2 separate regions of the Homo sapiens genome follow, and region 1 is linked to region 2. The links are contacts of gene promoters, found by promoter capture Hi-C in blood cells and fetal thymus (Javierre and others, 2016). All regions are on one chromosome and are shown on one strand. Each heading gives the region's core, a stretch centred on a gene start or on the middle of the fragment in contact. The rest is flanking DNA. Distances are from core to core; before and after follow the strand shown. Region 1 overlaps DSTN (destrin, actin depolymerizing factor). Region 2 holds the start of NXT1 (nuclear transport factor 2 like export factor 1).

Region 1 (4,440 bases), core at 1-2,500, 5.8 Mb before region 2:
GGGTAAGCTCGCGCCGCCGCGTCAGCTCAGCGCTGGGTCTCTCGGTCCCGCAGCCGTGAGGAGGACGGTCTGCATACTCGCTGCCCGCCGGCTCCCTCCCCCGCGTCCCTGCGACCGCCGCGGCGAAGATGGTGAGTAGGAGGGAGGCCGAGGCGTGGGCCGAGGCGGCCGGGAGCAGTGTGTCTCTGGGGCGCCGCGGAGTCGGGGCTAAGGGGGTGAGCCGTGCCTCAGCCCGGGGAGGGACCCGGTCCGGCTGCAGTGTCCGGGCTGCGGGTGAGGGGGGGTCTCTGGGCCTCCGTCTCCCGCCGTCCTGGCTGGGCCCCCGCGCCCCGGGGTGGATCCGCGGCTGTTGCGCAGCTCCCAGCTGGGGCGAGGCCGCCGCCCTGAGCGTGGCCTCTGCGGGTGTCTCCAGACCCGGCCTTGCAACAACTGGCTGGGGTCGAGCGCCCCCACCCGCTCTGTGAAATCCATCCGGGGGTCTGCACACCGAGGCCGGGGAGTGGGGGGCGGGGGGCGTCGGAATCCGGCCACCGTCCTTGTTGGCGTGGGTTTCCCCAGAGCTGGCGCTGAGGCGCTTGGTGACTTGTGCGCGTTCCAGCCCTTGAGGTCTGTCCATCTCAATAAGGAAGATAAAGCCTTTATGGAACAGTCCTAGAGCACGGAATGATCGCTAACGAGCAGGATCCTGGCATGATTTAGAACGGGGTGGCCTTGCAGCTCCTTTGTTTTTTTCTTTTTATCTGGCAATCGGCTTCCAGCAGCACTCTCGTCGTGCTTGTCAAGCTTGGCAGTGTCTGTTTTAACCCTTCCCTGCCCGATCTGTCCGTGTATGGTTAGAATTTTTTTTCTGACCTGTAGACAGTTGGACTCTGCCAGAACTTGGTGCGCAAGGTGTGGGCATGATGCTGGGATGCTGATACAACCAAATTTAAGAGCTTTAAAAACCATTAAAATACTGGAGTCACCAGAAAGTAAACAGGTGCTCATTAGTATATTCTATATGATGGACATTTTGCTTAATTTACATATTTTCCCCCTTTACACTGTCACTCTAATTAGCTATTTAAAAACGTATTCTCAACTGAACTATCAGTTGGAACATTTTGTCGTTTTCGTTAGTGTGCACACACTGTTACCATTTTTGGTCAGTGATTTGCAGGCGTAGCCTTACCAGACTTTGCTAGAAATATTACACTGTAATTGCATCTGTCTAGAAGCAGTTGGTACCAGCTTATCTGCATACAAACTGTTTTCACTGTATAACAGTTTTGGTTTTCTTAAGTTACTACAACTTCCGTGAACATGCAGGCGGCCCCTTAGTGAAAGAAAAGATAAACCGGTAGTTTCTTGATGACTGTAGATATGTATGTAATAGGGATTTGATACTGTTCAGTTTTTGGTTCTTCTTTGGTTTAATGCTGTAAGCTACAAAGTATCAGCATCTTGAGTCTTTTTAATATCTAATTATTAGAAATTTAATAACATTTTAAATGTATATGCTACTTTATACTGAAAGACTTAATCTAGGGGCTTTGAGTTATGGTACGCTTAAGACCATTCACTCTGTGAAAGTGCTTTGAAGCTGACTAGGGTCTGCTCTAGAGACTTCTGATTTGACATTATGCTTTTTTATTGAGTGGCTAATACAGACTTTATTTTTCTGTTTGAAAATAAGAGACCAAACATTTTACCTTTAGTTAAATGCTTAGTTTTAGTTAAAGCTTAACTAAATTCAAGGAAGGAAGGGTCTGTTATATTTCCTGGTTCTTGTGAGGAGTGGGAGAAATAAAAATTAGAAATGAGCGATTTCCAAATACGCTTCAAAATTGTTGGCTTTAGGGAGATCAAGAAGACCTTACAAGTTACTCTTAGAGTTCAGATTATAGACCCCCCATTTTTAAAGGTTATTTTTGTTTTTAGCCTTATGAGCGCAGGAGCATCTTTGTTTAGTTCAGTGATTAGAGAATATTGTGGGTATTATCCCAGAGTCTAGCACTTTGCTTTTAGCTCTTTTGGTTAGATGCTTGGTTCCAAGTTTCTTTTAAGATTAAATTTTAACTACCGATGGGTTTGTTCTAAATTAGCAGAATCACTTCCTTGTACTCACCAAGTCTTTTAGAAGCACCTGAAATAAAGCAGTTTGAAACCAGCTGGGCGCTTCAGGATGAGATTAGATGTTTTCAGATGTCTCCTCCAACAAAAAACAAACAACGTCTGCCTCCACGTGAACCACAATTACAGACCCCAAACAAAACGTGTGTGTGTGTGTACTGGGTGTGCCAGCCTCCTTATACAGAGATTGTTTAGTAGCCCATCATCAAGTTACTAAGGTTATTTGCTCAGTAGTTCTACTGGATATGGATTGAGACATCACACCTAGACTTGCCTAGCTCCTCTTGTAACCAGAGTATCTTTTATGCTTCTTGGAAAGTAAGAGTGTAGTCTTGCCCCTGAAGTAGAGTTAAAAGGTTTGCACGATAATCTAACCCTTAACCTTATCCTAATCTGGACTGTGGTCTCACAGACTGAACTAATTGGCGCAGTATTCAAGTATTCTAATACTTGGTGATTAGCAAAAACACTACAACCCAGTGAAATAGGTTGGGCATGTATTCACATGCCTATTTAACATATGAGAAAACAGATTGTAAAGGATTAATTGACTTGAGACAAATCACCTTTTCCAACTCCAAGTTTTAAAATAATAATTTTGAAACATTTTAAGCAGAAAAGTACACAGAATAACAGATCCTTTTGTACAGGAAAAACAGGGCTATCTTATTGCCATATTTCAGGTTTTTATGTTATCATTACAGCTAAATATGCATCATCTTCCTCATCCCACTCCCTTCCCTCCCTAGAGTTATAACCATTCCTGTGTCAAAGACATAATATCCTGGCTGGTTAAGGAGATGATTTTATTCAGGCTATTGCAATTAGGAGAGCATTCCTGATTGCCTTATTTGAAAATATGCAACAGGCCAGTTCTTTGCAGTTACCTGTTTCCCAGAACACAAAACGGTGGGGTGGATTAACCATCACTGCTTTCTGAGAACACAGAGCTCAGGTAAAGTTCACAGTAGTCACCTGAAATTGATATTCATTGATAGTTCCATACTTTTAGCTACTTAATCATTCATATGTATTGCCTTGATGTGCTTTTAAAACTTACGTAAATACTGTGCTTCATGTATCCTTTTGCAGCTCTGTGAGAAAAAATTAAACTTTGTGGGGGTGGTTTTTTTTTTCCCAGGGGAGGGCAGCTTTTGGATTTATTTGTAGCTTTGGTTCTTCAACTGCTGAATTGTGTTCTTTTGTATGATTGTGCAAGTTTATCCATTCCCCTGTTGATAGACATTCAGCCATTTCCTAATTTTTTGCCTTTTTTTGGTCTATTTAAAGTTTTTATAATAGGCAATTTCCATGTCATATATTGCTATATATTACTTCTCTAGCCCCAGTGTGTATCTCTCCATGGTGTATATCTAGAAGCGGAAGCCCTGGATTGGAGCATACATATTTTCTACTCTACTACTGGTTCGTTCTGGTTGTATCTCATCATTAACAGCTTGTTTCTACATTGCCTTTCACCACTTAATAAGAGACTTGAAACCTTTGCCAGTCTGATGGTTGTGAAATGGTTTCTCATTATTTTATTTTGCATTTCTTTGATTACTAGTGAGCTGACTCTTTTCATATGTTTATTGCATCTTAGGTTTTTACACGCATGCTGCATCCTGCAAACCTGGCCATTCTGTAAATACTTACCATCTTCACCTAAGCTTATTTGCAGAGCCATAAAGTAAATGTAGCAGTAAAAAAAAAAAAAAAAAAATCAGCTGGATACAGTGGCCTATACCTGTCATCCCAGCACGTTGGGAGGTTGAGGCAGGAGGATTGCTTGAAGCCAGGAGTTGGAGACCAGCCTGGACAATATAGTGAGACCTTGTCTGAACAAAAAAATTAAATAAAAATTAACTGGGCATGCTGGCATGTGCCTATACTCCTAGCTATTTGGGGGACTGAGGTGGGAGTATTGCTTGAGCCTGGGTGTTAGAGGCTTCTGTGAGCTATGATTGTACTACTGCACTCCAGCCTGGCCACAGCGGGAGACCCTGTCTCAAAAAACAAGAACATGATTATCAATACCAGAACCTCATACTGAGGAGTAATATTTCTCTTTTCTGGCACATAAATTTCTTTCCAGGCCCCTTAGCCAGCTAATTACCAGAAGTTCAATACTCTCTGTTAATTCTATCCACCTGCCATTTTTAGGCCCCTGGTAGTGGTAGAATGTAGAGTGACTTAGGACAGAGTTCTTTCCTTCTTTGCCAAGGGCTGTGGAGATTAATGTCCTTCACTTTACACTTACCCCTCTCTTTCCTGGCAGTTCTTCTAGCCAAAATGTAAAAGCACACACAGTAGATATATGGGAACAAT
Region 2 (4,628 bases), core at 1,043-3,542:
CTCCAGGATCATAGTAAGGGAGGAGACCACCCCTCATATTGTCTTATGCCCAATTTCTGCCTCCAAAGAAAAAAGTAGTAAAAACTAAAAGGCAGAAATGAAATCCACAAGCAGACAGCCCAGCGCCACACCCTGGGCCTGGTAAAGATTGACTCCTGACCTAATTGGTTGTTTGCATAAAAAAGGCACTGTGAAGATCCCTGTCCTGTCCTGTTCCGTTCTAATTACCTGTGCATGCAGCCCCAGTCACATACCCACTGCTTGCTCAATTGATCATGACCCTCTCACGTGGACCCCCTTAGAGTTGTGAGCCCTTAAAAGGGACAGGAATTGCTCACTTGGGGAGTTCGGTTGTTGGAGACGTGAGTCTTGCTGAAGTTCCCTGGCCGAATAAAGCCCTTCCTTCTTTAACTTGGTTTCTGAGGGGTTTTGTCTGCGGCTTGTCCTGCTACAAATAGGGGGAATAAAAGCCAGGGTTGCTTCCAAAGAGAGCAGGGAGTGAGTGTTGAGGACAGATCATCACAACTGTGCAGTTGAGGAGCATGATTTGAACCCAGGTTTGTCTGTTCATTCAAACAGTATTTATTGAGCCCTTGCTTTGGGTCAGGCACAATTTTATATGCTGGAGACACAAACCTAAAAGGACCCTAACCTAAAAGGCAGACCCCACAAACCTAAAAGGCAGAACAGCTGCCTTTCAAAGCTAAAGTCTCGCATTTTTAAAAGGCCTTGGAGCTGCATTAATGTTCTTCTAATTTTTCTAGGTATGAATCTTCATACTTTTCTAGGTATGAATCGACCCTGTGACACCAGGATGGTTCTTTGTCAGCCTCCTTGTCTATAAAATCAGAAATAATGGTACCTCCCCCAATAAGTTATGTGAAACAAATTAAAGGGGCTTATTATACAGGAAACAAAAGCAGCACAGCATCCAAACTACTGAGCGTGCAGTAAATCAACGCATTCCCACTTCCATTCCATCCACGCTGATTTAGATCAATCCAAGTATCACTGCCTTGGGGTTCAAAAGGCCATGTTAGTTCACAAAGCCCCGAAAATGCTCTTTCACACTCTCTGCTCAGCCTCCAACGTGTCTTTTTAATAATCCAAACTTTCCACCTACTTAACTGAAGTGTGTGGGGGGAGAGGGTGCGGGGGGGAAGGGGTGGCCTATACTAAATAGCCCAACTGTTTTCCACTTGTCCTGAAATCTGAGACCAAGATTCTCTTAGGAATGCAAGCAAAGGGAGCCGACGGGACGCCAAGAAAGCACAGGTTAAACTACCTCACTTCATCTAGCCCCATTTCTCTCCTGGCTTTTCAATTAATTATTCAGCCTCAGACCAGCAGATGGAGCTGAAAATGTTGTCTAAAGAAATGAGGTTTTTCTTTTAATTTACAAGCTATAGTTTCTCATGCCTCCACACTGAATGGTTACATCCTGTTGAGCCTGTTCGTAAAGTTCAGTAAAAATCCAGTTCTCATTCCAGAACAGCTGAATCGTAGCTATGAACGCGGAAGAACAGAGTCCCAACCCCAGCCGGGCCCGGGTTTCCCGGGGCCCCTCAAGCCTCAGGGCAGTGGAGAGCCGCCGTCACGCCCCCGCCTCCCCCACGTCCCACCCTCGCCCCAGTCTCCTCCCACTTTTAGCTACTTTTCCCATCTGACTAAAACTGGCTTCCTCCGTGTCCACCAAGATGTCGCCTCTAAGTGGCCTAACTCCTAAAGAGCGCGATCGGCTCAAGCACTCCGCCACGCGGTTTCCACGGGGCGCGGCCGGCGTTGCCCTCGCCGTGGCCTCAAGCATTGCGGCGCCCCACATGTTGCCAGACGGAAGGCCTCGGCGGGGTCAGGCAGCTGCTGCTGGCCGTGACTACATCACTGGTGACGTTTCACGAGACTTTTAACTGAAATCACTCCAATACAGGCGCATGCGGGACGAGGGGAAAGCATCTCACCCGACCCCACACACCTTCCCCTCCCTCTCCAGCCTAGCGGCCTCCGCTCAGCGGAAAAAAAAGCAGACGCTACTCCCCGCTCTAGGTGCGGGACCTAAGAGGTTTGGCCCAATCAGGCATCCCACCTAACCAGACGGGCCGGAGTCTGTGGCCCGGTTGGACCAACGAAAACTCTAGGGCGGATTTGCCGGGATTTCTGGGAAAGTGACACTCCCGGAAGCTACCGCCTCTTATAAGCCACACATGGGCGGAGTTAGCCTTCCGGCCCGCAGTCCCACTGGCTGACTTCGCTGCCCGTCACGGGAATGCGGGAGAGGGCGGCGCCGGGGCGCTCGCGTCTGCGTGGAGACCGGCTGGCCGCGCGCGGGAAGCCGCGGAACTGCGCCGGAAAGTCCCCCGGCTCTGGGGCCCCGGTGACCCAGAGTAAGCCTCCAAGAAGGAGGAGGAGGAGAGAAAGGCGGCTCTTCCCGTGCCCCTACCAGAGGCTTCGGTGGGCCCACCTTGTGACCTCCGCGGCCGGCCCCTCAGTGGAACTGCGTCCCACGCGGGGGGCGTCCCGACCGTGGGGGCCGCGGCCCGCGCTGACCCTGGACGTCGCCGCGCAGGTACGTTGCCGTCCCCCGGCGGTCTGACCCCCGAGACAGCCCCTAGTGCATACCCCACGCCCTCCTCCATTGTCGAGAATGAGACACGGCTGTGCCTTTGTCCACGTGGTAGAGTTGCCGCCGCGGTGAGGCTCTCGCCTGTGCAAAAAGCGTGGCAGCGAATTCTCATCAACGAGGGGAGGCGCGTCCCCTCACAGCGCAGCTCTCGGGTCTGAGGAGGGCCGGGCAGGGCGTGCGTCTGTCTAGGTTTGAATTAAAGGCGACTCACAGGAAATAAGGCCATGCCACTGTGGTAGCTTTTCCCGTCCATCTCCGGACACTCGACGGTGTGGGTCGTGCGAGGAGGCGGCAGTCTTCACAGCCTCTTACTCTAGTCCTCACGGTCAGGTTCTTTTTCTGATTTGACACAGACAGCGGGACTGACGACCTCATAGGTAGCTGAAAACCGTAAGTGGAGATGGTCCTTCTATGGTGTGTGGGGGCGTGGCCAGTTGTTAGATTGTGTTTGGAAAGACAGCCAGGGGCGGAGAAGAGGGGCATTTCTGAGATGATGGGGGGACTGGTGCCATGGAGGGAGGAGGAGTGAGGTGGAGATCGGGAATTCCAGCCAAAGAGAAATGGGGTCCCTGGGAGAAAATTCCCACTCTAGCAGTCCTGGAGTTGTGCTCATGGAGACTTGCTTACGCGAGTACAAGGACAGCGTTGTATTGACAAAATTTCAGCCCTCAGTCTAGTCTTGTAAACGATAGATCAGGAGTGTACTTAACCGTCGTTACTTTGATCCAGCCCTAGGTTTCCCTTTTCTCATTTGTAAAATTGTTATAGTAATACCTTTTTCATCCATTTGTGGTAACATTTAAATGAGGTAATTTGTGTGAAGCCCTTAGCAAACACAGCGCTTCTTAGTCGTGGGTTCCGCGTGGGGTGGATTCAACCAACCTCAAATCAAAAATATTCTTCAGAAAAAGAAAAATGCGTTTGTACTGAACATGTAGAGGCTTTTTTTTTCTTGTCATTATTTCCTAAACTATACAGTATAACAACTATTTACATCCCATCTACATTGTATTAGGTATTATAAGTTACCTACAGATGATGAAGGTATATAGGAGGATGCTGCGCATAGGTTATATCAAACAGTACACCATTTTATCAGGGACTTGAGCATCTGCAGGTGTTGGTATCCTCGGGGGTCCTGAATCCAGTTCCTCACAGATACCGAGGGACCACTGTACTCAGTCCAGAGTACAGTTGAGGCTTAACTATGAGGTCTGTGGAGGGCGTGGAAAGACCCACGTCTGAAATTGGCTCTTAACTGCTCATTTTTAGGACAGCTTCCCTCCCAGCCAGCCCTTTACCAGAGGCAATGCACCATCTTTGCAGCCGTTATAAGTACCTGGCTCTTTCCAGCCCTATGTGGAATGTTTTATTTATTTCATAAGCTAATCATTATAAAAAAAAAAGTCTTTTTTTTGAAATGAAAAAAAACTGTTCACTAAGTTTGTAAGTATAAACTATTTTAGTAATGTCCTCTATTTTAGTAATGTCCTCTTTTTTTTAAGTGAAATATTTTAATTATGGAGAAAAGAACATAACAGTTGTACCTGTACCCTGAAAAAAGTAAATGTCAATTTTTTAAATGCTTTTGGACTTTTTTATTTGGGGGACAATGTGACATTTCAGCTATAGTTCATATTCTGTGTCCACACACCCAAGAGCTTTGAAATCTAACATGCCTTTCTGTGGAGGCACTGTGACTCCACAGGACTTATCTGGTGGATGTTAGTACCTGTGTAAGCTGGGTGTCCTCCCTTCTAATCCCCACTCACCCAAGAGGTTTGCTGCTTCTAGCTTATCATGGGGATTATGGCTGCCATTTTGATTCTGTCCTCATGTCATTTGTGTTTCTACCCTCTTAAGAAACCTGCCTTCTCTGCCTTCCCAGTTCCTCCTGAGTGAGCTCATGATAGACTTTCCTAGACTCAGCAGCTGACGAGCATTTCATTGGTTTGGTTGGCCTTTATTGGGCCAGTGACCACTCTTCCCTTCAACATGGTCCACTGTC

What was found. Contacts are between HindIII fragments. The CHiCAGO score rates a contact against its expected background, and 5 or more counts as called.
Region 1: a contact is called between a fragment that was not itself captured here and the fragment with the promoter of NXT1 in region 2, in 1 of 17 cell types (non-activated CD4 T cells). The highest score is 6.8, in non-activated CD4 T cells.

The regions. Positions count from the first base shown.
Region 1 is chr20:17,570,081-17,574,520 of GRCh38, forward strand. It overlaps DSTN (destrin, actin depolymerizing factor), which reads left to right. Exons shown (of 4, transcript NM_006870.4): 1 at 1-131. The coding sequence starts at 129. Among named protein-coding and RNA genes, the nearest start is that of DSTN, 2.2 kb to the left of the region's middle. RefSeq lists silencers at 1-125, 146-435. The HindIII fragment of the contact is 938 bases long and covers 782-1,719 here.
Region 2 is chr20:23,348,499-23,353,126 of GRCh38, forward strand. It overlaps NXT1 (nuclear transport factor 2 like export factor 1), which reads left to right and starts at 2,293. Exons shown (of 2, transcript NM_013248.3): 1 at 2,293-2,563. NXT1-AS1 (NXT1 antisense RNA 1) reads right to left here and starts at 2,969. Exons shown (of 3, transcript XR_937384.2): 1 at 2,832-2,969. RefSeq lists enhancers at 1,294-2,166, 1,875-2,014, 1,934-2,228, 2,167-3,038, 3,095-3,144 and silencers at 1,585-1,714, 2,335-2,604. The HindIII fragment of the contact is 12,471 bases long and covers 1-4,628 here.